Linked DNA regions of Homo sapiens: regions 2, 3, 4, 5 and 6 are each linked to region 1. Evidence: promoter capture Hi-C in 16 types of primary human blood cells and fetal thymus (Javierre and others, 2016). All regions are on one chromosome and are shown on one strand. Each heading gives the region's core, a stretch centred on a gene start or on the middle of the fragment in contact. The rest is flanking DNA. Distances are from core to core; before and after follow the strand shown.

Region 1 (4,053 bases), core at 1,554-4,053:
TGGCAACCAAAACATCACGCAGGACTGGGGGTTTTGGGGAAACAGCTCACTTTAGAGCAGTGCAGTGTAGAGCTTTCCGTCTTTTACCAGGGTCCACCTTTAACACTGTTTATCTGAAAATTTTCCCCCTGGCTTACTCGCTTGCAGCTGCCCACTTTGCAGAAGGATGGCGCTCTGATCTCTACGCTCCCTGTTCCTTCAGGGACTCCATAGTATTTTTTTTCACGCGTCGTCGCTACTACAGCAGACGCCTGCGTTCTCATTATTTGCTGTACAGATCTCCGGTGCCTTGACTGTAAACAAAACACTTTAGATCATTGTGAGGTCGATGTAAGCACAGCCTTTCTGCTGGCAGCCAGACTTCTTAAGGTGGTGTGACTGTGACTTGCTTACTTTTCGAGATCAACAACAACAAAGCGACAAAATGGTGCTCCTACATATTAGTTGAAAGATTCAGCATGTGAAGGGGATCGAAGTGTTTATTTTCCACTTCCATATAAGACATGAATTCCATGAGTAAAATCAAACTTCTGTGGCAAGGTGAACTACTCTAGAATGTCTCCATTTACATACATGTGGTAGTTTGGGTGTTTATGCATATGGATAGATGCACATATATAGAGTTCCTGTGTTGTCTAGCAATTGTTTTAAAATTTGGACAATTATCTAATTTCTAGGGTAAGGTATAAATTATGGTAGGGAGGCCTACCCTAATTTTCCTGTTCCTTTTCCCCCAGTCTGCAGTCCAATAAATTGACAGCCTTAAAAGTAGAAAAACTAAAGAGGATGAGACCTCTTGCTTGATCCTAGGTGAATTCTTTTCTGTCAGTTAGGTAGGAAGTCCTGACTTGAAAACTAGTTCTGGGCACTGCCCCCTTTACTGTTCTCTGGGTATCAACCCCTGTCCTTCAATTTTAGTTGAACTAGTGGATGGTGATACCACAGGCTCAAGACAGCTGCATTTAAATATCAGTGACCACAGGCCACATCAAGGAAACATCTGCAGGCAACCCAGGGCCTGGGAAGGAGCCATTTTCAGTCACTTGTAAGACAGCAGGACCTGCAGACTACAGCACAATCAAACTCAGACAAAACCCTGAACCAGTGAGAACCATTAGGAAGGAAAGGAACAGAAAATGAACCAACCTGAGTGTTAGGAGACTTGCATCTAGTCCTGACTCCGGTACCAACCGAATGCATGTCCCTGGACAGGAAACCTCTCTGAGTCTCGATTTCCTCCGTGGTAAAAAGGAGAGGGTTAAACCACAGGGTCCCGAGGGTCCCTTCCAGCTGTCACATTCTGGAGCGTATGAGATGAGGTAGGCACACAAAGTGGACAAGATGTGGCTAAGAAAACAAGCTACACATCAAGCTCATCTGTAGCATAGGTGCTTAAGAAAACTTTGCTGCTGTGTAATATTAGAACGGAAGGTTGGTTTCCAGTAAAATGCATTAACTTTGGCTCAAACCAAGATGATGGGTACCGGGCATGGGGGTGGGGAGGCAGTTGAAGATCCACTGAGCTTTGTCTCAGGGCAGCCCTGCTCATCGTCCTACTTTACCTTCCACCACGGTGCTCAAGCCCACACTGAGAGAGAAATTTCCAGCTGCAAAAGGGAGAAGAGAAACGCTGGAATACTAGTATCGGACGTTAGGACATGGTTGTGGTGTTTTAAAAATCATTTCATCATCTGGAGTTTGACCCCGAGGGGAGTATTTTCACCCTTCAGCCCTCTGAAAGCATTCACTAGCATCTGAATATTGTTCTGAGTTTGTTGGAGCAGTGAAATCTGGTGAGAGAGAAGGGTGGAGGAAGGAAGGAGCTGTTGTATTTGGCGGCTGGACTCAGGTAGAGGAAACTGCTACAATCCCGGGAAAGAACAGAAAAGTAGAAAGGGACGAGTTCCCACACGCAGCCAATGTCCATGGCCTTAACTGTGCTTGGGAAGGAAGATCCTGGGCCAGGGGTGTACCCTCGTTTTTCAAAACTAAACGTGTCTGAGACAGCTACAAAGTTTATTAAGGGACTTGAGAGACTAGAGTTTTTTGTTTTTTTTTTTTAATCTTGAGTTCCTTTCTTATTTTCATTGAGGGAGAGCTTGAGTTCATGATAAGTGCCGCGTCTACTCCTGGCTAATTTCTAAAAGAAAGACGTTCGCTTTGGCTTCTTCCCTAGGCCCCCAGCCTCCCCAGGGATGGCAGAAACTTCTGGGTTAAGGCTGAGCGAACCATTGCCCACTGCCTCCACCAGCCCCCAGCAAAGGCACGCCGGCGGGGGGGCGCCCAGCCCCCCCAGCAAACGCTCCGCGGCCTCCCCCGCAGACCACGAGGTGGGGGCCGCTGGGGAGGGCCGAGCTGGGGGCAGCTCGCCACCCCGGCTCCTAGCGAGCTGCCGGCGACCTTCGCGGTCCTCTGGTCCAGGTCCCGGCTTCCCGGGCGAGGAGCGGGAGGGAGGTCGGGGCTTAGGCGCCGCGGCGAACCCGCCAACGCAGCGCCGGGCCCCGAACCTCAGGCCCCGCCCCAGGTTCCCGGCCGTTTGGCTAGTTTGTTTGTCTTAATTTTAATTTCTCCGAGGCCAGCCAGAGCAGGTTTGTTGGCAGCAGTACCCCTCCAGCAGTCACGCGACCAGCCAATCTCCCGGCGGCGCTCGGGGAGGCGGCGCGCTCGGGAACGAGGGGAGGTGGCGGAACCGCGCCGGGGCCACCTTAAGGCCGCGCTCGCCAGCCTCGGCGGGGCGGCTCCCGCCGCCGCAACCAATGGATCTCCTCCTCTGTTTAAATAGACTCGCCGTGTCAATCATTTTCTTCTTCGTCAGCCTCCCTTCCACCGCCATATTGGGCCACTAAAAAAAGGGGGCTCGTCTTTTCGGGGTGTTTTTCTCCCCCTCCCCTGTCCCCGCTTGCTCACGGCTCTGCGACTCCGACGCCGGCAAGGTTTGGAGAGCGGCTGGGTTCGCGGGACCCGCGGGCTTGCACCCGCCCAGACTCGGACGGGCTTTGCCACCCTCTCCGCTTGCCTGGTCCCCTCTCCTCTCCGCCCTCCCGCTCGCCAGTCCATTTGATCAGCGGAGACTCGGCGGCCGGGCCGGGGCTTCCCCGCAGCCCCTGCGCGCTCCTAGAGCTCGGGCCGTGGCTCGTCGGGGTCTGTGTCTTTTGGCTCCGAGGGCAGTCGCTGGGCTTCCGAGAGGGGTTCGGGCTGCGTAGGGGCGCTTTGTTTTGTTCGGTTTTGTTTTTTTGAGAGTGCGAGAGAGGCGGTCGTGCAGACCCGGGAGAAAGATGTCAAACGTGCGAGTGTCTAACGGGAGCCCTAGCCTGGAGCGGATGGACGCCAGGCAGGCGGAGCACCCCAAGCCCTCGGCCTGCAGGAACCTCTTCGGCCCGGTGGACCACGAAGAGTTAACCCGGGACTTGGAGAAGCACTGCAGAGACATGGAAGAGGCGAGCCAGCGCAAGTGGAATTTCGATTTTCAGAATCACAAACCCCTAGAGGGCAAGTACGAGTGGCAAGAGGTGGAGAAGGGCAGCTTGCCCGAGTTCTACTACAGACCCCCGCGGCCCCCCAAAGGTGCCTGCAAGGTGCCGGCGCAGGAGAGCCAGGATGTCAGCGGGAGCCGCCCGGCGGCGCCTTTAATTGGGGCTCCGGCTAACTCTGAGGACACGCATTTGGTGGACCCAAAGACTGATCCGTCGGACAGCCAGACGGGGTTAGCGGAGCAATGCGCAGGAATAAGGAAGCGACCTGCAACCGACGGTAATGACCCTTTCCCAACCATAGAATGTGTTTGGGGCCCCGCTTTGCCTGCTGGAGGGTGTTAACCTTAGCTTGCTTTTCGGCGTATTCTGATTTAGCTTTGGGAGAGCTAACTTTATTGGTCTTAGGTGTTCAGTGCTACCTGGCCCACTGCTTGTCTGTTTGTGACTTTTAAGTCAGAAACTGGAGATGGTAAGATCCGATAATTTCCCTAACTTAATACATCGCGGTCCCTCTCACTAGCAACTCCTAGGTATGTGACAAAGTTGGGATGTTTATCAACGGTCCGCCTCCTGGCTAGGG
Region 2 (4,053 bases), core at 615-3,114, 990 kb before region 1:
TTTACTGCCACGCTATTCACAGTATCAAAGACATGGAATCAACCTAGGTGCACATCAACAGTGGATTTGATTTTGTTTTAATGTGGTACATATACACCATGGAATACTTTGCAGCCATAAAAAGGAATGAAATCATGTCCTTTATAGCAACATGGGTAACCATGTTGGAAGAGCTGGAAACCATAATTCTAAGTGAATGAATGCAGGAACAGAAAACCAAATGCTGCATGTTCTCACTTATAAGTAGGAGCTATACATCGAGCACTCATGAACATAAACATGGGAACAATAAACACTGTGGACTACTAGAGGGAGGAGCGGGAGGGGGTTAATGAGTCAGAAACTACCTCTTGGGTACTGTGCTCACTACCTGGATGCAAGATACCCATGTAACAAACCTGCACACGTAAACCCTATGTCTAAAGTAAAAGTTGGAAAAGAAAAAATATTTCCTAAATTGTTCTAGAATTAAGCAAGGTAATATTTATAAGACATCCAGCAGAGGGTCTGGCACCCTGGCATATAATAGATGCCTAATGAACATTAGTTTCCTTATTTTTCTTACGAGAGTAAAATATTAAGATGTACATATTCTGTTAGGTCATAGAAAGTTTGAATGGTGGGAAAAGTCAGCTGTTAAAATGCTGTGGGATCTCTTTTTGAGCCTTTTCACCTGTGATCAAAGTTGTCCATCACCCTGGCATTTTTGAGAGCTGTAATTTAAGGAAGAAGGTATCATAGGTTACCTCTGTGGAAATTCTAGAATTTGAATATTATGCCCCTGCTCACTTGTAGACTGGGCTGTCACTATAAAGTTAGGCTGACTTGACTGTATCTGATAATTAGGGGCTGGGAGAGCATGGAAAATTGAAGCCATAGATAATCCCAGTGTCTTGTTTTAGCCAATAATAATTCTTCTCCCACCAAGTCTTTATCAGAACTGCTAACAAGGAGAAAAGTCGACTGGTTTGAGTTTCCTCACCTTTTATTCTCCCCTGGGTATCTTCAGTAGAGGTGCTAATGAACAGTGAAATGGCCAAAAGGTGAGCAGCTCCAGGGAGGAGAAGAAGGAGGCTCAGATAATCCACAAACTGTAATCGCTTTGAATAATTGAGTTAACTCCAGTAAAATGTAGAGATACATTCACCTGCTAGGCATTGTTGGAAGCTAAATTAACACACTGGAAGCAAAGCTTTCTTTTAAGTTTCATTTTTAATCTAATGGTGGACATTTTGGGGCACTGCAGCCTATTAAATCTGCTAACTGATGTTCAGACGTTATGAAGGAGTTAAACTATTCTAAGAATATTCAAGGCCTGTTGTTCTCTCCTAGGCTTTCTACGTCAAAGAGTAAAGTCAGAAAAGCCAAACTGATTTCTCCTAAAATGAAGAGAATTGAAGTTACTCTCCCAAACCCCAGTTGTAGGCCAGGCCCTAAACTGAGAGAAATGGACAACCCAAATATTTTGACCTTTGCCCATTGCCAGGTGAGGCCAGATCCGGGGAGGAAGTGATGTTTTCTTATCTGCCTTAACTTAGCCACTACGTGGAGAAGCACTGTAATGTAATTAATGCAGAGGTGCTCAAATTCTGGTGTTCCTCAGAATCACCTCAGGGGCTTTTAGAAACAGTTGCTGGGCCGTTCTCTCAGAGTTTCTGATTTGGTAGGACTGGGGTGGGACAAAGAATTTGCAAATCTGAGAAGTTCCCGGTTCCAGGGACCGCACTTTAATAACCACAGGTGAAACCAATGAGAAGCTGAGCTCCGAAGTCAGACTACCTGGGCTTGAATCTCAGATCTCTCACTTGGTAGTTGTGTGACTGGGTAGTTGATAGTTTACAGAATCTCTTTGTACCCTCGTTTTCTCATTTGTAAAATGGGAATCCTAATATCTCATAGGATTGTGAGTATTAAATGAATTAATATGTGATAAGCCCTTAGAACATTCCCTGCTCTATGGCAAGTGTGCATTGTAGGTTAGTATGACACGGTTATAGGCTCTCTGTAACAATGAATATAGTGACTGATATTTTTTGAGCACTTACTATAGGCCAGAGATTGACTCAGTACTTTGCAAGGATTATCACATTTAATACCCACAACGCACTCTCCCTCCTTTCCCATGTCCTGCTTGCCTTCTTTCTTCCACTTTCAGTTATTCCTTTTTCCCTTCCATTCTTTCTTGCTCTTCAAAAGCCATATTGTGACAAAATTAATCCATTCTAAATGAAAAAGAAAATGTACCTTAGTTATAAAGTATGACCTTTGTGAGTTTTTTCAGGACTGTTCACCTGTTCTTTGCCTTTTATTCCAGCGTGGTACCCGGCACATAGTAGGAGTTTGGTGAACATTAATTACTTGAATCTCGTTATCCTTAAAAATCAAACAGGGTTTATCTATCAGGGTTCCCTTCTCTTCCTTTGTCCTATCCTGGCCTCTCCTTGACCAACACATTGGTAAATTTGGCCTCTGCTCTTTCTTTTCCCCAACTGCAGGGGCCCACATGTCAAGACAAGGTGGCATCACCAACCATTGAGAAAGCTTTTATTTCACTAGCTTCTACCTGGACCACCCATCAAAAATCTTTAAAACGAGTATTCCTTGGGACAAGGCCAGGTGTCATTGAGAGTCCCCAGGAAGAGCATAGGAGTCCTGGTCTGGGAGGGCCGGACCTACACTCTCGGGGGTGCCCAGAGGAAGAACAGGGCCTTTAAAGTCACCCTATGTTCTCTGACCCGTGCAGTGGTGGCATACTCCCTCCCCCACCCCTGACCTGAGGGTGCTGTGTGTCAGCTCTCCTAACTCTTGGTCTCATTAGGGAAGCTGGTTGTCAAGTACTGCCCAGTTACAGTTGGTTTAAACTCTCAACTAAGGGATCGTAAGCAGGTCAGCTGCCTGAGTCTCCAGTTACTCTTGCAGCTCAGGTTTCCCCTTGACAGGTCCTGATAGGGGCTACTTTTGCACCATTGATGTGGCCAGGGCTTACAGCAAGGTTTAAGGTTTCCATGCGCAGCCTTCTTGGCAGGCAGCTCCCAGAGAAAGGAGTATGGTTTGGGAGAAAGCTGCAAGGCCTGTTCGTGGATCCTTAGTATTTTGAGCCGATCACGTGGAGTGGGCCTGTGCCCATCAGTACCAGGAGACTTTATACTTAGGGGAGAATCTGTATGCGGTGTGATTTTCAAGGGTCTATTTCCTCATTGTTTCTCTTTGCTTGCCCTATGGCTGAGTATTAAATGAACATTGAAAGTCTACTATATGCCGGTTACTCTGCTAGATACTAGCAGAGATGGAGGGTAGGATACAAAGACAAGTAAGGCCTAGTCTTCAGGAAGCCTTTATTTGTGCTCTGTGTATCAGAAGAGGGTTGAGTTGGTGACAAGAATAAAGAGTTGAGGGGAGTGAGGGGCTGAAAAATAATAAGCCTTAGAGAACTAGGAATAAAGTGTTAACTTGGGAAAATTGTTGAAACAGTTCCTTAAGATATTTGTAGTAGATATGTCTCTAGATAAGAGGCTTGTCTGGCTGTGAGGTCCTTGCACGAGACCCTTGCAGGTTTCCCAAATCTATTTGGACTGGGTGTCCTGTATTAACATGAAATCGTAGGCAGACACTGAATAAATCGCAACAGAGTTTCGGTTGTGGCTGCTCCAGTGTCTTGGAGTGGTTGCTCCAGACACATAGGTCTTATCCTCCTGCCCTGAGGTTCTCCAAATTTGCATTTGGGAAGTGTATAGTTTTATGACTGTTTCTTTTATCGTGAACTTACGGCCACCCCACTTCCCTGCCCACTTCCCCATCAGCTTCACCTTGGGTCGCGGCACATCTGTTCTCCAGAACATGTTCCCTGCCAGGAATCTGCAGGGAGCTCTTAAGACTTATCTTTCTTTTTAGCTGTTTTTTTTTTTTTTCCACTCAACTTCTAGGCTAGTGCTGAGTACTTATATGTCATGCTGTGAATATGTGTGTGAATGGATTGGTCAGAATTCCAAATTTTAGTTGTAAGAAAATTCTTTTGTGCAGCGTGCATGGCTCAAAATGAGAGAAAAGACACTG
Region 3 (4,053 bases), core at 708-3,207, 970 kb before region 1:
GTGCTTTTTCTAATTATATTCAGTAGAACCCTAGGATCCTGTGAGGAGGCATAGGGGAGTAATTGATAAAGAAGGGGACTGTGGTGTCCGTGTTTTATTTGGAGCTGTTCTACCCACACTGTAATTTATAAGCTCTAACTTACCAGGGGAGATAAGATTGTATAGAACCAGCATCTTGCAGTTATACGGAACCTTTAAGTTCTCCTACTCCAGCTCCTTCCCAGTGCAAGCACGTGTTTTAGAGTAACTGTTCAGCCTCAGCATTAAGTCAGCTTTAGGAGAACAGTAAATCGCCCATTTATCTGGAGACTTCAGCTGTTTGAAAGGCCTTCCTTCTAGTGCATCGGTATCTGTTGCTGGCTCTGTCCTCTGCTACTACAAGCAAGCCTTGAGTCTCTCTTAGACTTGTCCTTCCTATATTTGAAGACATCTCCGAGAAGATTTTAAATCTTTTTTCCCCCACAGGCCACATATATCCTTAATGCCTTCATCCATTCCCCTCTTGGGAATGTGCATCTTTGGGCCATTGGAGAGGTCTTGCTTGGACTGCGGCCACTGTGATTTCTGGGGGCAGACTCAGCTCCTTCTTGGTGTAGAGATCTGCCCACTATAGGCACCAAATAGATGTTGGCAGGCTTCTTTCCTCCTTACTGCTTCTATTTATCTCACCTGTACTTTTAGATTTGCTGCTCTTGGGTAAGCAGATAAGAACAAGGGAAATGTCTTCCGTTGTTGTTAAAGACAATGTTAGGATAGAAAGTAATATGTTTGTACTCAAAAATGCCCAGTGAGATTTCTAGCCACGGCCAAGTTATCATTTGCATAAGCAACCTGGAAATGCCCTCTTGGTCCTACTGATTGTGTCCCATGGTTAATGTAGATCCCTGGATAAATTCGAATGGCTACTCCTGCTCAGGGGTCATGCCATGAGAACTTTTCTCATACATCAGATAGAGTCCCCTTCCGTCAGCTGAATGCATTTACCCCTCAGTCTGTGCTACCCATAGGATAAGCAACATGCATAAGAAGGTAGGTGCCTTGGCTTAGGCAGCTCTGTTGAGTCACCCTCAAGAATCCTGCTGGAATTCTGTGAGGAGTGAGGATGCAGAGCAACGAAATATTCGAAGGCTGCTATGATTTTTACAAGCTTGAACCTGTCTCTTGGAATTCCCCATTGTGAAGTCATTGTTGACTGGTTGGCATTATAAAGCAGTTCAGAGAAGTAAAGTTAGATCAGTCTGCACGCAAATACCAGCCACACCATCTCCCAAGCTAGTGACTGGAACTGCGGTTTTCAAGTCAGTTTCCTCATTGCGGAATGGAGATAACGATGCCTTCCTTGCAGGGTCATTGTGAGGCTGAAATAAAATAAAGGCTTCATGGGAACACATACCACATGCTCACTTAATGCTAGCTCTCTTTCCTGATTGTGGCAGTGACTGTATTTTCCAGCTACAATTGTGACACGTGTTCTGAGAGGTGTTAAGTATTTATATACAACTACCCATATGTATTTATGGGTAAAAGGACACGGAACTTTAAATATTGAGACCATCCTGGAAATTCTAGGATGTATGATTGCATAATTTGTAATGCCTGCTATAGGCCTAGCCTCATAGTTGACCCTTGATGGATGCTGAAATATTTCTTAATCATAGGGAGAAAAAAAACTCAATGACCTTTTACAGAGATGTTTGATTGCAGGGCTTATTGCTAATGCTCTCTCTCTCTCTTTTTTTTTTTTTTTTTTTTTTTAATCTCACTATGCAAAGATAATACAGGTCTGGGTAAGAGGAAGACTTAAGATGCTTTGACTTAATTGTATCTGCTTGACAGAAGCAATATACTGCCTTCTGATTTTAGGATGTAACCATCCAGAAAGGCAGAAGAAAGGGACAATTTCAGTTCTAAACAGGAATCCGAATATCTCACGTCCTGAACCATCTACATAAACTAGAGAAAGGGCACTCCTTAAGACTGGTGAAGCGGGCTCCTTGGAAGATCCCCACAGCAACATTGAGTTTGGTTTGTCTGGCGTACCCTCTCCCCAAGGGCTGAGTGGGCCATCTGGGTAACCTAGAGAGGAGACTTCAGATGCTAGGAGTATAGTTCCTACCCATCCTCATTTTCACAGGGTACACTCATTTTTTTCCCCTTGGAAGTACTGATATGTATTCTGCAAGATGAATGTTGAGACCCAAACACCATTTGGCTTGTAAAAATTAATGGCTTAGCATCCAGAGGGATGTTGCTTTCAGGGCAGGGGGGACACTGGACACCAAGAAGAAAGCCAGCTTGGGCCCCTATACCATCTTGGATGTCTAAACCATCTTCTGGTAACTCTCTGGATGAAAAGAAATCATGAACTTCACTTCTGTGATTTGGTGGATGTGGATTTTGCTACATCAAAATTTGCATTTGAGTCTCTGTGGTGTTCTTTCTAGCCGAGATGCTAGGGTATGCTCTTTCTTTCTGGGGAGATTCCAAAAATGTTACTCTCTGTGGCTGTGTGTACAATGTCTATTTAGAAAAGAAGACTGGCATTTGCATCTTCTCTCAAATTCTTTACGTTTGTCTCACTGAATTTTGGAGTGGACAAAATATTCAATAGCTTTTTTCAAGTGAAAAAAATGTCGACTTTCAAGAGTGTATTACTTTAGGTTCTTGTGTATATCTGTGCTTTCCTGGTGGCAGAAACCTAGAAAACTCTAGAGCTCAAATTTCAGCGTATTCAATTTTTTGTTAATGTGTCTATAGCTTGTTAATAAAAGCTTACTTAATGAAAGCCAACATCACCACCACTTGAAATTTTTGCAGCCAGAAGAGTGTACTTAAATACTTGTGTATTCAGACTTCACTTTAATAAATTTCAATAAATAGCTTCCCATAGGAGAGGTTTCTTCTGTTGAATCTGTAGAAGTTGACGACGGTACAAGCATCAGCTTTCTCAGGCAGCTTTTCTAAACACCTGCAGGGTGGAAAAGAGATCCTTCTCTCAAAATACTGAATATTGCTGGCATGACCACTCTTGTCACTGGTGCCTGCTGTTTTCCATCTTATCTGGGTTGCAGGTTTCTTCACAGTGATGGGACACCGAAGTGCAATGGGATGAAAGCATGCCTGTGGCATTTTTACCCTAGCTGTGGGGAAATGACCACTATCCTGTGTCCATGACACTCTTCCTCCTCAGGACTTTCAAACTAGGCTTCAGAAGCCATCACTGGGGGCAGTCCTGGCATTTATAATGGGGATAGGGACAATTTCCAGGAAAAGTTTCTATATCAAGGACATCTCAGTTCTGCAGCAGAGAAATCTTTGAAATTACCTGCAAACCATCTTTTTGCAAGCACAACCAACTTTATTTCTGTTTTAATTAATTCCAAAAATGCTTTATTTCCAGAATGTTAATATTTAGTTAGCAGTAGGCTCTAAGTTTCCCAACCCCTCAGCCTTTTCAGAGGGTATAATAATAAATGTGTAAATGTGCTAGGGGATCCCCGTGATTTATGGAAGCTTTATATTGAATAATTTTGAAGAGGAAAGACCTTTTGGTAATAATATTCATTTTTTGACTCTTCTGTAATATGCAACCTGAGGGTGGGTGTGGGGGAACGTGGAGAAATGCCATTCTCCTACTGAGCACAGACTGTATACACCTATTTTACAGGGAAGTCACGGGCTCCTAAGCATTCAGTTTAAAAATGAGCAGAATTAGATGGGTACCCTTCATTGGCCCTTCATGGCTAGGGGAGAAATGGGAGAGGGAACGCAGCTCATTTTGGCTTCAGTCCTTACGCTTTCAAGAGACAACCCTACTCCATACTTCATTATTTTTTTTAAAGCTTTCTATAATGGTTGGTGAAATTTACATTTCAACTCTTGCCTACAACAGTTTTCTGCCTTATTTTCTCTTCCCAGCGCTTTGTGCCGCCTCCTTGACAACCTGCTCATAGGTATTACAATTGGCCTCAGAAATTGCAGTGCTTCCCTTTTGTTCAGCTGGTTGGCTTGATAGGTTGTATCTGCAAATTTGAGAGCAGCGTGTTTTATTTT
Region 4 (4,053 bases), core at 1,065-3,564, 860 kb before region 1:
CGTGCACGGTAGCTTACACCTGTAATCCCAGCACTTTGGGAGGCCTAGGCGAGTGGATCACTTGAGCTCAGGAGTTTGAGACCAACCTGAACAGCATGGTGAAACCCTGTCTCTACTGAAAATACAAAAATCAGCTGGGTGTGTTGGTTCGCACCTGTAGTCCCAGCTACTTGGAGGGCTGAGGTGGGAGGATCACTTGAGCCTGGGAGGTGGAGGTTGTAGTGAGCCGAGATCGTGCCTCTGCACTTCAGCACTGGCAACGGAGCGCAACCCTGTCTCAGAAAAAAAGTATACGATTTTCATAATCAAAAAAGTTTGATTTACAACTTCACATCGCTCTGACCTTTTGAGTTTCAAGTGCTGCATTCTGTGCCCCATGAGCTTGGTGAGGGTAGGAGGTGGCAGGTGCGCTCCAATTGTATCTTTGGCACCGTGCCAGGCACTTAGCTGCTGCTCCGTAGATCGTTGTTGGAAAAACATCTTTCCATTTCTCGATTTCCCTTTCCTTTTTCTTTCCAGGTGATGTGCTCTATGAACTCCTTCAGCATATTCTGAAGCAGAGGAAACCTCGGATTCTTTTTTCACCATTCTTCCACCCTGGAAACTCTATACACACACAGCCGGAGGTCATACTGCATCAGAACCATGAAGAAGGTACTGGAAGAGGTTTCTCTTTTCTTGCCTGAGGTTTAGACAAATCCAGGAAGTTTAATTGTTAACTTGATAAGCTGGTCTTCTTCGTGTAAGTTCACTTTTCATTCAGTAGACAATTATTGAGTGCTTACTATGTACAAAATACACTCTTGGTTCCCTGAAGCTCACGATCAAAGCGAAGCAGTGAGATGGATGTACACAGAAGCACAGAAGCGTAACCATATAGTAGGCACCGTAAAGGTGTGGTGGAAGGGTCCATGACAGCCAGGTGCAGGAAGCAGGGTCTTCTCATAAAGGAAGCAACTCTGGAGTATGCCTTAGAGCAGTGCTCCCCACCCTTTTTGGCACCAGGGACCAGTTTTGTGGAAGACAGTTTTTCCACCAACAGTGGAGGTGAGGGATGGTTTGGGATGATTCAAGTGCATTACATTTATTCTGCACTTCATTTCTATTATTACATTATCATACATAATGAAATAATTATACAATCCACCATAATGTCGAATCAGTGGGAGCCCTGAGCTTGTTTTCCTGCAACTAGACGTTCCCATCTGGGGGTGATGGGAGACAGTGACAGATCATCAGCCATTAGATTCCCGTAAGGAGTGTGCAACTAGATCCCGCGCATGCACAGTTCATGATAGCGTTTGTGCTTCTATGAGAATCTAATGCCGCTGCTGATCTGACAGGACGTGGGACTCAGGCGGTAATACGAGCAGTGGGGAGCAGCTCTAGATACAGATGAAGCTTCACTCACTTGCCCCCACCGCTCACCTCCTGCTGTGCAGCCCAGTTCCTAACAGGCCATGGACTGGTACCAGTCAGTGACCTGGAGGTTGGGGACCCCGCCTTAGAAATCCAGCAGGATTCTGATAAGCAAGGATGAAGTGAAGAACATTCCAGGCAAAGAAAATGACGTAAGGGTGGGGTAAGGCTTTGAAATAGAGAGCAATTAGATGACTTGGATTATAAAGCTTATCTTCTCCCACTCTTTTATTACAGAAAATTTCAAACATACTCCAAATAGAATAAAATAAATAAACCCTTCTGAGCCATCACCCTTGCCTTCACAATGATCAGCATTTTGTCATTGCAGAGCTAGTCCAAGGAGCTTAGCTTGGAACCAGAGTGTGGAGAACTTTGATTTCTGGAATATGGAGGAAAGAAATGGGAAGTCATTGGAGAGTTTTTTAGCAAGGGGTAATAAAAGTTGGAAGAAGGAAAGAAAAAAAAACCCAAATCTATGAACTCAGTGTTGGGCCAGGGCTTTCTGCATAGGGCACCAAAGGAGGCTGGTTAGAGTTCACTCAGTGGCGGTGTTTATTTCAAGTGTCCCAGTTGTTCCTCTTAATCATTGGTAGAAAGCAAAAGACCAGAATTTAATTTAGGCCCTGGACCTAGTTCCAGAATAGGTGTTGGGGCACAGAAATAGAGTATAAAAACCTTACTTGAGGCCAGGCGCGGTGGCTCACGCCTGTAATCCCAGCACTTTGAGAGGCCGAGGCGGGCGGATCACGAGGTCAGGAGATCAAGACCGTCCTGGCTAACATGGTGAAACCCCGTCTCTACTAAAAATACAAAAAAAAAAAAAAAAATTAGCCGGGCATGGTGGCAGGCGCCTGTAGTCCCAGCTACTTGGGAGGCTGAGGCAAGATAATGGAGTGAACCCGGGAGGTGGAGATTGCAGTGAGCTGAGATTGCGCCACTGCACTCCAGCCTGGGCGACAGAGCGAGACTCTGTCTCAAAAACACCAAACCAAAGCGAAAGGAAACCTTACTTGAGCACCATTGCATTAAACAGTTGAACAGCTTGAGCACTCAGTGATGGATCGTGCCTCTGAGGGTCATGATCCTCCTGCTCGGATTGGTCAGACCACAGACGTCCAAACGTGCATCAGTTTCTTCATGTGTACTTTTCCTTAGGTGCAGATTACTAGGGACCTCAAACCCTGGTCCCTTGGGGCATTTCCTTAAAATGATTGCTCATCCCCAAGAGCAGGGCTAACAATTTTGTTTTGTTGTTGGCAAACCAAAAAATGAGAAGTTTCTTGTTTTTCCTAATTAACACTTCACAAAAGAGAGCCTGACTCCAGGCGATGACACCACCTCCTTGTGCCAAGCATTTCACAGCAGGGCCCCTCGCTTCCGTGATGGAGAACGAACAGCATTTCGTGCACGCTCCCTGCCTTCCTCTCATCCTTTCCTCCCCTCACTCTACCCTTGCTAAATTTAGCAGCTGCCCTCCTCCCCCAATTCAGTTATTCATTCTTTTGCTCTTCCTGCCATGTGCATTTCCGGCTTGCATAATAGCCACCAGCCACTCCAGAGAAGAGGAGGTGGGTTTACTGAAGCTTGACATTAAGGCAAGGAATATATTACCTAGCCTGCCTTTCAGATACAAAGGGTATGTGATGGGTTTTCTTTCTGTCTCTTAGTCTTTCTCTCATTATTTTTTTTGTTAATCTCATTTGGAATTTAGCCCCATTTTATTCCTGAGTGTGATTGGAGGCTTATGGTCTCTCCTCCTCACAGATCCTTCCTCTTTTCCCTTTGGCCTGATTTGACTCAGCAGTAGGTGTGTTTGTTGTTCTCATTTGCAGGAGCTCAGCAATAGAGAAAGCTGGCTTACTCTGAGAGCTGCTCGCAAACCAAGTAAATACAGATGTGCCACCGCATACGCTGTAATGAGCTTTCTCTCAAGTATTATGATGTTGGTGGTTGTGAGCTCAGTAGGTAAGAGGATGGAGCTAATGAGGCCGAGGTCAAGGGTGTCATTGCCCTGCAGACCAGTTAGCTCTGCTTCAGACCCAGCTCTTAAAAGTAGTGCATTTTCAGAGACCATTCCTTAAAGCTCATGGCCAGGAAGCAAGGTCTGAGAGCATGTCCGGGCGCATGTGCTCCAGTGAACAGGTGCACACAACAAGGAGAGAAGTGTAGGTCTTTATCCGGTGGTATCCAGGGAGAAGAGCTTTCCAAGGCACAGAAGTGATATGAAGAGGTGGCCCTCTCCCTATCCTCCTGCCTTTCAGCTATATGGTGCCCTTGATGACAAAGAGAACAAGTAGAGAGGTGCATGGATCAGTACAAGTTTCCTGCCTCCAGCTACTTCCTCTCTCTCTCCCTTCTTCTCCACTGAAAAGAAAAAAATCCAGCTCAACATAAATTGTTTCCAGAATCAATACTGTTCCATTTAATTATGAAGGATAACAGATGATTGATGTGGGCATATGTTAACATACAGAAAGATCTGGTTCTGAAAAAAAAATCTGTCAAGTGAAATTATACATATCAAATATTACTTCCCCAGTGATTTATTTTACATAACTGGGAATACAGTTCCATATAAAAGTATGTTAACCCAAGATGACACATGTTGCTGCCAACTTGGCATAGGTAAGT
Region 5 (4,053 bases), core at 459-2,958, 720 kb before region 1:
GTCTGCAAGCTAGAGAAGCAGGAAAGCCAATGGTAATTCAGTCTGAGGCCAGAGGCCTGAGAATGGTGTGGGGACTGCTGGTGTAACTCCTAGAGTCCAAAGGACTGAGAACCAGGAGCTCCAGTGTCCAAAGGCGGGAGAAAACAGATGTCCCAGCTCAAGGAGAGAGAGTGAATTTGCCCTTCCTCTTCCTTTTTGTTTTATTAGAACGCTCAAACAGATGAGATGATGCCTGCCCACACTGATGAAGATTATCTTCTTTACTCAGCCTACTGATTCAAGCACTAATCTCTTTTGGAGACACCCTCCCAGACACACCCAGAAATAATGTGTTGCAAGCTATCTGGGCATCCCTTAGCTCAGTCAAGTTAACACCTAAAATCAGCCCTCACAAGAATCTACCTCTCCTTCTCTCAGTCAAAGCGCTGCATTCTCTGCAATAATCCAATAGCACCCATAATATGCAATAGCACCAATGAGATGAAATGGAACTTTTGCTGGGACTTCTGGAAAAGTGACCTGATATGTTTTCCCCTGAGACTTGAAGGTGAGAAGAGGTGAGCGTGGAGTTGTGCAGCCACCGTGACCCCAAAGGAAGAGACTCTGAGAATAAGGCCAAGATGAAGGTGGCTAGGGTCATGACATACATAGAAAGGGGGCATGATGGCAGCAATGTGAAAACAAGCAGCCCCCCAGGCCCAGAGCATCACATGAATAATAAATTCCCTTTTTGCCTAAGCTATTTGGGGTAGGACTGCTTTTGTCGAGTGCTAAAGAAAGCATCCTGTCTGATAAGACATGATATGGCAAAAAAAAAAACCACAGGTCAGAATGAGACCAGTCACATGTTCTCTGTTTTCCATTTTAAATTTCCAAGCATGTGCTCACTATTCACATGGCCAAGGAAGGTGTCACATTATCACCTGAGGAGGGGCTCCTTCCAGTTTGTTTCAGCCTTCTGTAGGAGACATCTATTTTCAGAACAAGAAATCCTGATGGGAGGCCAATGTATTGCTTACTGTCATTTTAATTTTATTCTTATTAATAGTAATTACGATGCATCTCTCAATATCCAGAGATCATTCAGTTAATCCAACATTGGCAGGAGGTGTGTTCTCCACATTTGTGGAGACAGTTTTGCTATTAGTCATCCACATTCTCATATGGCCCCCATGGTGACAATGGCTTATCCAAATCCTCCCTAGTCCTCCTGTGTGTTTTAATTAAGTTGGCCACTCTACACTAGCCACTTAAGAAAGATAGGGTTATTGGGGACTGTACACAGCAAAGGAAAAGATAGAGAAGCCATCACTCTATTCTCCCACTCTAGGTCCCAATGCAGCGTATTCCTCCAATCTGATATTTCTTGCTCAGGATGAATGAAGCATGAGGATGTTCATTACCTCCCTTAACGTATAACTTGGCAATTGAAAGACAGTCCCCTCTTTTTTTTTTTTTCTTGCCTTTCTTTTATGATGGAAATTGTAAATATCAGGTTAGGTCTCAAATTATCATCCAGCTAAACAAGACATGCACCAAAGCACTCACTCTGAGGAGGACTTACAACTCTCAGGGTGCTCCCACTCATCCAGATGGCTAGGAAACAGCTGATCCCCCTCTCCATGGCCATGAGATCAGAATGGGGACCTGCCCTTCATTGGCTAGTTTCTTTTTAAGATCCAGGCAGAGGAGTTGAGAACTAATTGTTATTGGCTGTGCTAGTGTATTGTCCTGAGATTCCTGTGCCTTCAGAAGAGAATTTTTGGAGGGGCTGAGGTCTTAGAAAGTCAGACAAAATAACTGCTAAATGAACACTGTTGATTTCCAAACCAAATCATACTTAATGACTATGCCTGGCCAGGCACATTGGCTCATACCTGTAATCCCAGTACTTTAGAAGGTCGAGGTGCGAGGATTGCTTGAGGCCAGGAGTTCAAGATTAGCCTGGGCAACCTAGTGAGACCCGTCTCTAATTCCAAATTTTTTTGAAAAAGAAGAAAAAATATCTACACCTGGCTGGGCATGTTGGCTCCTGCCTGTAATCCCAGCACTTTGGGAGGCCGAGGCAGGAGGATCACCTGAGGTCAGGAGTTTAAGACCAGGCTGTCAACATGGTGAAACCCCGTCTCTACTAGAAATAGAAAAATTAGCCAGGTGTTGTGGTGCACGCCTGTAATCCCAGCTACTCGGGAGGCTGAGACATGAGAATCACTTGAACCTGTGAGGCAAAGGTTGCAGTGAGCCGACAGCACCACTGCACTCCAGTCTGGGCAACAGAGGGAGACTGTCGCAAAAGTTACAAAAAAAAAATTATATATATACATACACATATACACCTAACATGATCAACGTGGCTTTTCCTTCACCTTTCTCCAAGGGCAAAAGTTGAGTAACAATAACAATATTCTGTGGGAAATTCCTGGTCTGATACATCCAAATCCTTCCAAATTGGCACTTGTATTCCTTTTCCTTTACTTTCTCAAGGTGAGATAATCACAAACAGGATTTAAAGAAACCTCACACATGCTGGCAAGGTGGAGAGTAAGAATGCACAACGGAGCCAAGGAAAGAGAACAAGGCTCCTTCCCACCTGGCCCCACGCATCTTATCAGCTTTAACTCCAAGAGCCTGTGTTCGCCTCTTCCTCGTGAAGGATGGGGCACCTGACGTCTTGCAGCTGAACTTACGATTACATTGCAGCAGAACACATCAAAAGAACAAATCCAAATAATGACATAAGGGAAAATAATCAAAGAAATTCAAGAAGTAATCCAAGAAATCATAGCCAGGGAGCGTCAGTGCACAGAGAACTCAGAATCCTTTCCAAAATCAAAGAATCATTGTGTCAGTAAAATTCAGAAGAGAAAACACACAAACTGCTTTTCCTCTGCTTTCACGCAACAAACAACACGGACACAAGCTGCATGTCCTTCAATTCAATGCCAATGCTATCTATCTGAAGATAGCATCCCATCCTGTTACCGGAAAGGGGCCCCGATCCAGACCCCAAGAGAGGGTTCTTGGAGCTCGCGCAAGAAAGAATCGAGGCAAATCTAAAAAGTGAAAGCGGCCGGGCGCGGTGGCTCACGCCTGTAATCCCAGCACTTTGGGAGGCCGAGGCGGGCGGATCACAAGGTCAGAAGATCCAGACCATCCTGGCTAACACGGTGAAACCCCATCTCTACTAAAAATACAAAAAATTAGCCGGGCGTGGTGGTGGGTGCCTGTAGTCCCAGCTACTCCGGGCGGCTGAGGCAGGAGAATGGAGTGAACCCGGGAGGCGGAGCTTGCAGTGAGCCGAGATCGCGCCACTGCACTCCAGGCTGGGGACAGAGCGAGACTCCGTCTCAAAAAAAAAAGGTAAAAGAATGAAACAATGGCTACTCCATAGGCAGAGCAGCCCCAAGGGCTGCTGGCTGCCCATTTTTACTGTTAGTTCTTGATGATATGCTAAACACGGGGTGGATTATTCATGCCTCCCCTTTTTAGACCATATAGGATAAGTTCCTGACGTTGCCATGGCATTCCTAAACTGCCATGGCTCTGGCGGGAGTGTAGCAGTGAGGACAACCAGAGGTCAATCTCTTTGCCATCTTGGTTTTGGTGGTTTTTGGCCTTTTTTATTGCAACCTGTTTTATGAGCAAGTCTTCATCACCTGTGTCTTGTGGCGACCTCCTAGCTCATCCTGTGACTGAGAATGCCTAATTTACTGGGAATGCAGCCCAGGAGGTCTCAGCCTTATTTTACCCAGCCCCTATTCAAGATGGAGTTGCTCTAGTTCAAACACCTCTGACAATCCCACAAAATGAGAACTCAGTCCCACAGACTGTCCCCCCACTTCAGACACCAGTCACAAGTTCGGGTCCCCCGGACTTCTGACAGCTTCAAGTTGGAGTTTCCACAACCCTCTCTTTGGGTTCCATTAACTTGCTAGAGCAGCTCGCAGAACTCAGGGAAACCTACTTACATTTGCTGGTTCGTTATAAAGGATATTACAGAGGATACAGATGAAGAGATGCACAGGGAGAAGTATGGGAAGAGGCACGGAGCTT
Region 6 (4,053 bases), core at 718-3,217, 690 kb before region 1:
ATGTCTCATGCACGATATAAAGTGTGGGAGTGTGTTTTGCATGTGAATGATGCATAGGTAGAATAAAGTTTGAGAATCACTCTGTAAGCATTCATCTCAGTTCAACACTTATAAAGCACCTACTGTGTGCCAGGCTCATAAAAAAACTAGTTTGGATTATTTCCACATAATGATAGAGGTATGTATAAAATCCTAAGAGAATATAATACAGGAGAAGGCACTCAGCCTGGGGGGTCAGGAAGGCCCACAAGCCTTGGCAGTTACCCGGACTAGCAAAGGTGAGAAGATCATCTCAGGGGAATAGAAAGGTATAAGTTGGCAATAGCATGGTGTGTGCAAGGAACTAGGATCCAAGCATCAAACAGGGTCAAGGAATTAAATATTTGGGAGAGGCAGACAAGCGCAAGTTTATGAAAGACATGCAAAGAAACCTACTTAATCCTGTGGGTGGTGAGAGCCACAGAAGAGCATGATGAAAAGGAGACCCAGGCTCCTCTGTGCTCCAGGTCAGTATCTCTGAAAGCAGTTCCCAAGCTAAATGTCATGATGAAAGCACAAGGAGCCTCAGAGAGCTCAGCCTGCAGAGGAATTCATTCCTCAGGGGCAGTGTGCACTGCTCACTCAACTTTGCTTCTCCAGCACCCACCCAAGTCTGACCCCACTGGAGGCACTAGGTTCATTGTACAGAACTGATATTAATAAACTTCCTTATCCAGAACTTGTGCAATAGCCGAGCATAGTGGCTCAGGCCTGTAATTCCAACACTTTGGGAGGCCACGGCAGGCAGATTGCTTGAGCCCAGGAGTTCGAGACCAGCCTGGGCAACATGGTGAAGGCCCATCTCTACAGAACTACAAAAATTAGCCAGGAGTGGTGGTGCACGCCTGTGGTCCCAGCTACTAAGGAGGCTGAGGTGGGAGGATCTCTTCAGTCTAGGAAGTCGAGGCTGCAGTGAGCCATGATTGCAACACTGCACTCCAGCCTGGGCAAAAGAGTGAGACCCTGTCTCCAATAAAAAAAAAAACAAAACAAAAAAGAGAACCTGTGCATTTTAACATTATCTCCAACTATGGAATTCATTCAATCACCAACTTTTATTAACCATCAAGCAGGGAGGGAAGATATGAACAGAAATACAGTCAGGGCTTTACGACAGGGATACATCTGGGAAATGCATCATTAGGCAGTTTTGTTGTGTGAACATGATAGAGTGCACTCACAGAATCCTAGATGGTACAGCCTACAGCCTACAACACAAACAGGCTACGGTGTATAGCCCATTGCTCCTTGGCTACAAACCTGTACAGCAAGTAACTGTACTGAATATCATAGCCACTTGTAACACAATGGTATTTGGGTATCTAAACAAACCTCACGTGAAAAAGGTACAGTATAAAAGATTAAAAATGGGCTGGGCGTGGTGGCTCATGCCTGTAATCCCAGCACTTTGGGAGGCCAAGGTGGGCGGATCACGAGGTCAGGAGATCGAGACCATCCTGGCTAACACAGTGAAACCCCGTCTCTACTGAAAATACAAAAAATTAGCCGGGCATGGTGGCAGGCGCCTGTAGTCCCAGCTACTCAAGAGGCTAAGGCAGGAGAATGGCATGAACCCGGGAGGCGGAGCTTGCAGTGAGCCAAGACTGGGCCACTGTACTCCAGCCTGGGCGACAGAGCGAGACTCCATCTCAAAAAAAAAAAAAAAAAAAAGATTAAAAATGGTACACCTGTATAGGGCACTTACCAAAATGGCTGTTGCAGAACTCGAAGTTACTCTCGGTGAGTCAGTGAGTGAGTGGTGAGTGAATGTGAAGGACTGGGATATTATTGTCCACTACTGTAGACTTTATAAACACAGTACACTTAGGCTACACTGTTTATTTTTAAAATAAAGTAATTGAGCTACAACATGACAATGGCTACAGCGTCACTAGGTGATAGGAATTTTTCAGCCCCATTATAATCTTATGGGACCACCTTCATACATACAGTCGGTTTTTGACTGAAACATCATTACATTCAGCACGTGAATGTAATTGCGATGAAGTGAAAGATAAAGGTTATAGTTCTAGTGTATCCACAGTGCTTTAGGAGATGAACTGTTAGGGAAAGCCAGAAAAATCTCCACCACGGAAAAAATATTTGGCCTGCGTCTTGAAGGATAAATAGGAAGTCAGTACTCAGACAGGTGCCAGTGTTTTTCAGCCTGAGGCAGGGAGGTATGAGAGACAGCTGGAAGGGTTTGAGAATGGGTGGTGAGAACTTACACTTACTGGGGACTGGATATAAGAATGCAGTAAGACGTGGACCTAGCACCGTGATTTTTCGACCTGGGCTACACATCAGAAACACCTAGCGAGCTTTTAAATCTTCCAGGGCCCAAACCACATTGTGAACCAATTAAATCAGGACGTCTGGGGCTAGAAGCCAGTCATCAGTATCTTTTTTTAAGCTCCCAAAGTGATTCCAATGTGCTGCCAAGTCTCAGAACCACTAGTCTAGAAAGGAGGGATAAGGATTTTCAGCAGCCCCCACAGAACCGGCCCTCCTGGTGACCCTGCAATCCTGGCACACACACCCCACCCCGCCTGGGAGAAAGACCGGCCACACCACAGTCATCGGCTGTTTCCTGCTGCTCCTTTCCTCCCACCAGCATTTTACTCTGAAATAGTGGTTCTCAAAGTGTGGTCTCCAGACTGTAGCATCAGCCTCAGGGGGAAATTCTTAAAAATGCAAATTTCCCAGCCGCACCCTGGACGCATTCACCCAAAAACTCTGGGAGTGGAGCCCAGCAACTGAGCCATGCTAAGGTTGGTGAGCCGCTGCTCTGGAACATTGATCCCTCCCAAACTGCAGCAAAGCAAGCACCTGGGTGTAGCTCTGGCTGTGTAGGTGCTACTACAATCTGCTGGAGTCACTGCTTGTCGGCAGAGATGCCGTGGGAGCTGGCCTGGGTGCCTCCACGTTGGCCGTCACCACCAGGCAGTGGCCTTTGGCCTGGAATCGAAGGTACCAGAGGGCTGATAGCTCAGTTTTTTTATGGCACCAAGAAAAGACTTTCAGATTGGAGGTATGGGATTTTCTTTATTTTTTAATCCTCTTTTAATATAAAGTGGCCCCTTAGCAAACTTTCAAGATATTTCACATCAGAACTGGCCGGGAAATCCGGCATGTGGACAGACACGGATATGCCGTGTGCATTTTTCCGTTGGAGGAAGAGGGTAGGCTTGGGTGCTGGAGGGTGTTGCCTGGGGGCGGAGCGAGAAGGAAGAAAGGGCGCTGCTGGTTCACACCTCACCCATGCCCTCCTCTCAGGCCCCAATCAGGATGGAATTAAAAGACCCTGGGAGGAAAATAAGGAAAGCAACAAAGGAAATGAGTTCCCCATACAGAAAGGGAAATTGCCTTTCCCGTTAAGGTCAGACTGGTCCGAAGTAAAGGACTGGTGCGCCTTAGCAACCGCCTCTGCTGAAGCCCTAACGCTGGAGCTCTTTCGCCCTCGCAGAATAACCGGGACTTTCTTGCAGCCGGAACCAGCCACGTCCTGATTCCACACTCCCTTGAGGAGCCAGCCAGCTCCACATTTACTCAAAGAATCCGAAGGGCACCAAGTGGATGCTCTGCCACACGATTGAAGAGGGCAAGCTGTCTGGGGGGTTTTCCACCTCTTTTCAACTCAACTATTCTGAGCTGAAGTACTGGACCCGTTTTGTTTTTCCTGTTTTTTCCTGCTTCGGTAAATCTGGAAAAATCCTGCAGGTCTGAAAAACTGTTGGACTTGACAGCGTGTGTGTAGCGCCACCTGGTGACCACAGCTTATCAAAACAGCTTCCTTCTGGGGCTCTTGTGGATGTACATCAAAGGCTCCAGCTTCCAGACAGGTACACATCCTGTTCTCACGCCCGGCCCACTTTCCCGTGGGAATGTCAGCCACTCTGATTTGCCTTGGCTGAAAACCTCCTGTCTTTGCATGGAAAAAAACACAAATAATATGAACAAGCAACAGAGTTTTCTTTCTCTCTTAAGTAACCAAGCATTTAAAATCTTCTAAAG

Evidence for each region. Contacts are between HindIII fragments. The CHiCAGO score rates a contact against its expected background, and 5 or more counts as called.
Region 2: a contact is called between a fragment that was not itself captured here and the fragment with the promoter of CDKN1B in region 1, in 1 of 17 cell types (M0 macrophages). The highest score is 5.4, in M0 macrophages.
Region 3: a contact is called between a fragment that was not itself captured here and the fragment with the promoter of CDKN1B in region 1, in 2 of 17 cell types (total B cells and megakaryocytes). The highest score is 6.3, in total B cells.
Region 4: a fragment that was not itself captured here is called in contact with the fragment with the promoter of CDKN1B in region 1 in 3 of 17 cell types (M0 macrophages, monocytes and M1 macrophages); the score reaches 6.6 in M0 macrophages.
Region 5: a contact is called between a fragment that was not itself captured here and the fragment with the promoter of CDKN1B in region 1, in 5 of 17 cell types (naive CD8 T cells, total CD8 T cells, non-activated CD4 T cells and 2 more). The highest score is 7.2, in naive CD8 T cells.
Region 6: a fragment that was not itself captured here is called in contact with the fragment with the promoter of CDKN1B in region 1 in 3 of 17 cell types (non-activated CD4 T cells, fetal thymus and M0 macrophages); the score reaches 6.0 in non-activated CD4 T cells.

What each region holds. Positions count from the first base shown.
Region 1 is chr12:12,714,565-12,718,617 of GRCh38, forward strand. It overlaps CDKN1B (cyclin dependent kinase inhibitor 1B), which reads left to right and starts at 2,804. Exons shown (of 3, transcript NM_004064.5): 1 at 2,804-3,750. The coding sequence starts at 3,276. It also overlaps a transcript of GPR19 not described here. RefSeq lists enhancers at 1-61, 132-261, 382-431, 2,778-2,827, 2,908-3,007 and 1 more and silencers at 2,188-2,757, 3,182-3,370. The HindIII fragment of the contact is 7,251 bases long and covers 1-4,053 here.
Region 2 is chr12:11,721,268-11,725,320 of GRCh38, forward strand. All of the region lies in intron 1 of ETV6 (ETS variant transcription factor 6), which reads left to right. It overlaps LOC124902879 (a long non-coding RNA gene), which reads left to right. Exons shown (of 2, transcript XR_007063212.1): 2 at 1-1,166. Among named protein-coding and RNA genes, the nearest start is that of ETV6, 74 kb to the left of the region's middle. RefSeq lists an enhancer at 2,988-3,207. The HindIII fragment of the contact is 1,349 bases long and covers 1,191-2,539 here.
Region 3 is chr12:11,745,059-11,749,111 of GRCh38, forward strand. All of the region lies in intron 1 of ETV6 (ETS variant transcription factor 6), which reads left to right. Among named protein-coding and RNA genes, the nearest start is that of ETV6, 97 kb to the left of the region's middle. RefSeq lists an enhancer at 954-1,173. The HindIII fragment of the contact is 1,624 bases long and covers 1,146-2,769 here.
Region 4 is chr12:11,852,908-11,856,960 of GRCh38, forward strand. It overlaps ETV6 (ETS variant transcription factor 6), which reads left to right. Exons shown (of 8, transcript NM_001987.5): 4 at 520-654. Among named protein-coding and RNA genes, the nearest start is that of ETV6, 210 kb to the left of the region's middle. RefSeq lists an enhancer at 2,254-2,830. The HindIII fragment of the contact is 1,377 bases long and covers 1,627-3,003 here.
Region 5 is chr12:11,992,441-11,996,493 of GRCh38, forward strand. No RefSeq gene overlaps it. Among named protein-coding and RNA genes, the nearest start is that of BCL2L14, 76 kb to the right of the region's middle. The HindIII fragment of the contact is 4,872 bases long and covers 1-4,053 here.
Region 6 is chr12:12,029,723-12,033,775 of GRCh38, forward strand. No RefSeq gene overlaps it. Among named protein-coding and RNA genes, the nearest start is that of BCL2L14, 39 kb to the right of the region's middle. RefSeq lists enhancers at 2,582-2,631, 3,082-3,181 and a silencer at 3,633-3,927. The HindIII fragment of the contact is 4,828 bases long and covers 1-4,053 here.